Linked DNA regions of Homo sapiens: region 1 is linked to region 2. Evidence: promoter capture Hi-C in 16 types of primary human blood cells and fetal thymus (Javierre and others, 2016). All regions are on one chromosome and are shown on one strand. The core of a region is centred on a gene start or on the middle of the fragment in contact, and the rest is flanking DNA. Distances in the headings are between cores, read along the strand shown. Region 1 overlaps COBLL1 (cordon-bleu WH2 repeat protein like 1). Region 2 holds the start of GALNT3 (polypeptide N-acetylgalactosaminyltransferase 3).

The links. The method cuts DNA at HindIII sites, captures the fragments that hold promoters and counts their contacts. A CHiCAGO score of 5 or more calls a contact.
Region 1: a fragment that was not itself captured here is called in contact with the fragment with the promoter of GALNT3 in region 2 in 1 of 17 cell types (total B cells); the score reaches 6.1 in total B cells.

Annotation. Positions count from the first base shown.
Region 1 is chr2:164,750,530-164,753,845 of GRCh38, reverse strand. All of the region lies in intron 2 of COBLL1 (cordon-bleu WH2 repeat protein like 1), which reads left to right. Among named protein-coding and RNA genes, the nearest start is that of SNORA70F, 64 kb to the right of the region's middle. The HindIII fragment of the contact is 6,801 bases long and covers 1-3,316 here.
Region 2 is chr2:165,792,519-165,796,015 of GRCh38, reverse strand. GALNT3 (polypeptide N-acetylgalactosaminyltransferase 3) reads left to right here and starts at 1,769. Exons shown (of 11, transcript NM_004482.4): 1 at 1,769-2,001. It overlaps LOC124906086, which reads right to left and starts at 2,430. Exons shown (of 6, transcript XM_047446887.1): 1 at 2,224-2,430; 2 at 1,679-2,097; 3 at 937-1,216. The coding sequence starts at 2,430. RefSeq lists silencers at 1,827-1,976, 2,047-2,136 and enhancers at 1,207-2,112, 2,113-3,019. The HindIII fragment of the contact is 5,078 bases long and covers 1-2,834 here.

The sequences.
Region 1 (3,316 bases), core at 386-2,885, 1.0 Mb after region 2:
TGCTTGAACCCAAGAGGCTGAGGTTGCAGTGAGCTGAGATCGTACCACTGCCTTCCAGCCTGGGTGACGGAGTGAGCCTCTGTCTTAAAAAAAAAAAAAAAAAAAATTCCCATACTCAACTTATCCCAAATATACTTAAACATTTTCCAGTAACTGAATCAAGTATCAGTTTTAAAATTCAAATTAAAACTAAATAAACTAAAACTGTAGTCCCTCAGTCACACTAATTATGCTTCAAGTGCTCAGTAGCTACATGGCCGCCATATTGGACAGCAGAGTCCTAGAAGTTTTGCTGCAAAAGAAAGGCGGGTAATGACAAGGTACTTGAAAGAGTACTTGGAAGAAGCAGGCAAGTCGTATTTAAGATAATAGAAATCTCTGCATTTTTTTTTTTTGTTTGTGCACCTTGGAGAGAGAGATTTAAGGTGGCAGAAACATGGGATGTAATTGATGGGACTATGGATTATTGGTCAGACTTAAGTGGAGGTGCTATGGGGGCAGAAAGCCTGAAGTGATGAATGGCTTGTGGTAGGGACTTGGTATTCCAGGTGTTGAAATGTAAAATAATTGAGTGTGGGAGACTGAAACAAGAGCTTTTCAAAATTTTCTTTTGGGTTTGCCATTCCCTTTATCATTTTTTCCTAGTGTGAATGCCAAGAGAGAGAAAAGCACTTGGAAATGGATCCCATTTTCCAGGCTTCTGTTTCCTGTGAGCCTCAGAGGAGACCCTTTCCTGACCAGGAGCAGAAGTGTTCTCAGCATAGGAAGAACTCCCTGGGAATGGGCGTCCTGTCCATGTGACTCTTTCAACCAAATGCTACTTGTAAATTAGTGCAGCCACTGTGCCCTGCCTTGACCCTAGTCCTAACTATCTTGTCTCCATTTCCAGTTTCTAAACAAAATTGTGCATAAATATTTTATGTCAGAGGTAAAGGGGCATGGGATCATCTTGTTCAATACCTGTATTTTGTAAATGAGAAAATGGAAGGCCAGAGAAATTAAGTGATTTACTTACGGTAACACAAGTGGCCATTTAGGATACTCCCAGGCCTTTTGATGTCCAGTATATTGTTTCTCCAACCTCACCTGGGGAAGTAGCTGTCTCAGTGGTAGGGCTGGGGTATGGGTACATCTGGTATCTGCCTTCCTGTTTAAATGTTGAGGCTTATGGCCCTTGCTAGGGTTATTGGGTAGTGGGGAGTGGATTTGGTGGGTTTTCATTTGTAGTTGTCCCATGCTCTCTGTGCTTTTGGGCAAATTTCTTAAACCTCTGTAAACCCCAACTAAATGGCAGTGGTAACTGCCTCATAAGATTAAACGTAGACAAAAAGCACCTGTACAGGACTTAGAAGATATTCAATAACCACATATTTTTTTCTCCTTCACTACCTGGCTTTTGCTCATTCACTTGTTGTTTTTGTTTATTTTGATGAATGTTTAAGATCTCAAAGAAATGATGTAATGTGGTAGTAAAGAGCACCAACTTCAGAATCAGACACCTTGGGTTTAAATTTCAGCTCCACCACTTACTGGCTAAGGAACCTTAGGCAAGTTCCTTAATCTGTCTGCATGTCACCCTCATCTGGAATGTGGAGGTGGCAGCACTTGCTTCATATAGTGTAGTAAGGACACGAGTTAGTGCAGGTAAAAAACATTTTCTAACACACAGTCAACACTCAAGGATTAGCTGCTGTTGATACTGGATAGAAACTACTTTTTCTTGTGTTCTGTTTGGCTTTTACTGTTGGGACATGACACTAGCATTCCATATGTGCTTCTTTGATGTGAATATGCCACTGCCTCTTTGCTTGGTACATTATACCAAGTATAACTGAAAGTTGAGTCCCATTCCTAAAAATGAAAAATTAGATTATTCTTTTCTGATATTAATCATAATTCTCATTGGTCAAAGGAAGCTACAGATTTGAGTCCTGTCCCACAGATTACATGGCTTCAGGCAAATTACCGAGCGTCTGGGCAAAATGAGGGAGTCTTCATACAATCTAAAATTTTGTCAGTCCCAATTTAATCCCTTCCCCAAATAGGAAAACCATTTAGAAACTTCCTGAGGATTGAGATCTTTTATCCATGTGCATGTCTTTGGGGCTTATTTAAACACTGGGAGTTATTTGGGTGGCCTTTGCTAGGGTTATTGGCGGGGGGATTTGGTGGGTTTTCATTTGTAATTGTCCCATGTTCTATGCGCTTTGGGGCAAATTTCTTAAACCTCTGTAAACCCCAGCTAAATGGCAGTGGCAATGGCCTCATAAGATTAAATGTAGACCAAAAGCACCTTTAAAGGACTTAGCAGTAGATATTCATGAATGACTTGAATGACTTCTTATACCTCTGGCTACAGAACAGGTTGACTCTCAGCAACCCACCAAGTTTTTGCTCTCCTATGAACTGATGAAACTAATATGACCTTCCCTCCCTTCCTTCCTCAACTAAATAAAAAAAAATGCTCATAGAGAACCCCATCTTGTGCCAGTTATAGTTCTAGGTGCCAGCAGAGAATGAGACAGGCCACGTCCCAGCCCTCCAGGAATTTTTATTCTGGGGTCAAATAAAAAACAAGGAAATAAGTAAATAAGCAGGATGATTTCAGATAGTGATAAATGTGATGGGGACCAAGCAGGGCTATGTGAAGAGTGGGCCACGATGGGTGGGGTGTGCCTTGGTACCTTTTTTGAGTGGTTAGAGAATACCTCTAAGAGGAGGAAATATTTTATCTGAATTCTGAATGACCTCAAGGAGCAGGCAATTTGAAGTTTTCTGGTTAAAAGCATTTTGGACCGAGGGCAAAGCTATGGAAGGCTCTTGGATGTGAAGAGACTGGGTCTATTTCAGGAAAGAATGCCAGTGTGAATTACATGGGGCATTGAAACTGGGAGTAACAAGAGGGGCGCTGAGGTTGTCTCATTGGTTCTCAGACTTTAGCATACATCAGAATCACTTGGAGAGTTGTCAAATGTGGATTGTAAGGCCCTGCCCTTAATGTTTCTGATTATGTCTGTCTCAGGGGTGCGGCAGCCAAGTACTATGGCTGCTGCTCTGAAACCATACTTTGAGAACCACCAGGCTAGCTCATTTGGGGCCTGCAAGCCAAGGAAAAGAATTTGGGTTCATCAATGCATTGGAAGGCCAGTGAAGGATTAGAGAGATGTGATCTGATTTATGTCTTCTTTCTTGTTTTTCTCCCCCACTGACCTAATGGCATACATATTTAAAAGTTCACTCTGACTACTACAGGGGAGAATAGATTTTAAGGGACAAGAGGAGAAACAGGAGAGACCAGTGAAAAGGCTTTTGAAGC
Region 2 (3,497 bases), core at 520-3,019:
AGTGAAAAGTGTTGCTCTTCGCCTGGTGGGACATCAAAACTCTGACAATCTTTGGCTCTTCATTCAGAGATGGGTGGTGCGTGCAAAAGGGTACAGGTTTCTTGGTTATACATTTAGGATACCTTACAAATTTTCCAAAGACTAACATTAACCTCTGGTTAGGGGTAAACGACAAAGTGGCACAACGAAGAAGAAGGAGAAGGAGAAGAGAATTTCAGTAGTTAGTATTTTCAGTTCTGGACCTGGACCTAAGGAAAAACACTGCCAAGTTAGTATATCAATACACACAAGTATCTCCTGAACTATTTTTTTGTTTGTTTGTTTTTGGAGGGAAAGGGAGCTTGGCAATTGCTTGTAGGTACTGATATTAAAATGTTGCAAATACATGGAGGTTCCTTGGTGCTCGCAAAATAACCATGACATGTAAAACAAGCAAAGAACTACCTAGTTTACTAAAGTCTTAAACCCTAACTCATAGATGTCCTAGTATAAAATAGCACTATGGATGCTAAAACCAATGTCTTAGAGTAGTCAAATACTAAAGATACACTTGTTGATACTATACTAAACTGTATTTTAAACCTTATTTTTAGGTCACGCATAGCACTAATAAAACAGTGAATAAGCACCATAAGAGCATGTCAAAATGTAGGAGGAAGGCCACAACTAAACTTCATAGTAAAACCTACCACCATGTGATTAAACACGACACCAAAAAGTTTTTAGCTAGTTTTCTATTTATATCCCTAGATATCTTTGGGATAGGGCCAAAGAAATGAGTTCATAGAAAGGTATAAAGGCCATTTTAAGTCCTGGTTTTGGGTGTGTCAATGTTTGTTGCAGCAGCAGAAGGAAGGCTGAAACAGAAAGTTGTGTCATAAATGGAACAAATACTGTTTAACAATTTTTTTTTGTCTTAAAAACAGCAAAACCCACCATCTTCCTGGAGTCTGCGTTGTTCTCTTCCAGAATAGATGTTGAGCTTTTAAACAAACCTGCAGTAGAAGCAAGCCCTCTCCAGGAAATCCCAATCTCTTTCCAAACAGGGACAGCAAAGGTTCTCTCTGTTGTGGCTGTTTTTCCCTCTCTTCTGGGAATTGGTTTGCCTTCTGAGAGCATCCCAGGAAGGGGAGGTGCGCCCCAAATTGGCGAGGCTCTGCCAAATACCAAAGGCTCTTCTTTGGAAGAAGACTCCTCCTTTGGACGTGAGGCGCCCCTACCAGAGCGCCCGCGTACAGAAACGGAAACCACTAGCTGCGCTGAAGTGAGTCAAGTGATGAAATCAAGACTACACGGGAAGGAAGCTCACGAAACCTAACTGGTGACAGAAGCTGCTGAACCCTGCCCGAAGAAACCACATGAGCCAGCAGTTGCTGCCCTCCCGAAGTGGTCCTCGGAGGCAGCGCACCCCTTCATTTTGGCGAACCGAGGAGGAAGGGAGGAACCGTGTGGGGGAAATCTAGAACTTCTGGTTCCCCAAGGACCCAGCAGACTGTGTTCTGGCTACAAGGTGATCACTGCCACCAGGTCAGTGCAGGATTCCTCCAATGTAGATGGGCCGGGAGCCACAACTTGCGCGGAGCAGCAGCCTCGCCGACCACTCAGAGAGAAGCCGCGCGACAGCCAGGCTTGGCCCGGACGGCGCCCCCACCCTGCGCGCGCGATCCAAGGTTCTCACCTGGAGCGCTCAGGTAGGGCTGGGGCGGGGCGGGAGGCTGGCGCGCAGGCGCGGAAGTGGGGCCTCGCCCCTGCCGACGTCGCAGGCTGGAGCTCACCTGGGAGACTCCAAGTGGAAGCCGAGCCTCGGTTCTGCCTCTCCAGGCAACGCGGGAGGCCCAGCGGGAAGGCAGGAGGCGGCGGCGGAGGAGGAGCTCTACTGAGCCGCAACTGTGGCGACAGCAACCGGAGTCGCAGCCGCCGCCACCTGCACCTGGCGCCTAGCCCACGTCCAGCGCCTGCCCGGCCGCCGCTTCCCGCCACCCTGCCCTGCCCACCCGCCAGGTAAGCCGGCGGCAGGCGGAGGGAGACGCGGTACCCCTGGGCTGCGTTAGAGCAGGCGGGAGGACGGCCGCAGGGGTTCACGTGTTGGGGACAGGGCTACGGTCCAGGTGGCCGGTTGGAGACGGTCTCGAGAGCAGTGTGTCGGTTGCCCCTGGAGAGATCCCGAAAGGGGCGCCCTGGGCCAAGGGGCAGGTGGCGCCTCGGGGGGGAGCCCGGTCACACCCTCTCGCCCACGGTGCCCCCGCCAGTCCCTATGGGGCGGCCCCTGAGGAGCTGGACGGAGACCAAAGACCTGGTGGCCCCGGACTTGCCCTTGGGAGGGTCGCAGCGTGGGGACCCTGAGAGGGAGGGCCCGGCGGGAGGCGGGCGCGCTTCCACTCCGGCTAGCAGGTTGCCTGTCTCCTCCAGCCTCTCTGCCCGAGAGGACATCCCGCGACAGCGAAAGACATGGCTTTGCCAGGCAACTTTCCTAGCCGGGGACCCCAAACAGTTCTAGGCTGCAAACCGCGGCCGCCGAGCCATTTAAATGGTTTCCGAGTGGTTTGGAAAGGGCTCTGTGGCCGGGACGCGGACACCCCTCTCTCTCTGTTTCGACTCTGCACTTTTCCGGGTGCGCTCTCCAGGCCAGAGTTGGGCCCACTTTCCTGATCAATGGAGAAGAGTTCTTTTCTTCCGTGGCGGGAAGAAATCCAACTGCCACGCACCAACCACTCACCATCTCGTTAGAGGACCTGTTGACTTAAGGACCTGCATATCGCGGCTATGGTTTGCCTGTGGCATATGACTCAAAGGTTCAAAAAAACATTGTTTCAGGATCCTGCCACGTCTAAGCTTGGGTGTGCCAGGCCCAGATTCCTTTCCCTGCCTAATTAGGCTTTTCTGAAGCCTAAGAATTGAGGGTGAAACTGGCGCTTACCTTAGACTTTTATTTCCTTCTCTTTCCAACTCATCAAAGAAACTATTTCTGTTTTAAGAACCCCATCGAGTTACCAATATTTCCGATTCTTGAAAACGTTAACATAACTTGCTATAGAAGTTACACTACATAATGAAGACATTTACAGTCAAATTCTATAGCTAAAAAATATTAAAGTGACAGCATTTTAATTAGAAAATCTCTGCTTGTGGGAAAATCTGTTGCTTCTTTTATTGTATATATTTTTCTTTGCGTTTGTGGCTAAAATCCATGAGGTTAAAGTCACACGCTGCCATTAGATTCTTTTTTTTAATTTAACTTTTAATATCTGAAATCTAGTGCACATGTTAAACTTTCCAAGCAATTTGTACCGAGAATCAATCTTTATATATTGCTTTAACCAACATTTTTACGTAGAAGTTTCTGATAATAATAACAATTCCATTGTTTTGTTCTATCTCCACACATTTTAAAAATATTTTTTAAATTGCACGTTTTACTTAAAATGCCTGATGCAACATGTAGTGGGGTTATTTTTCTTCTTCTTTTTAAGATTAGATGGAAATCTAAAAGCCAACCA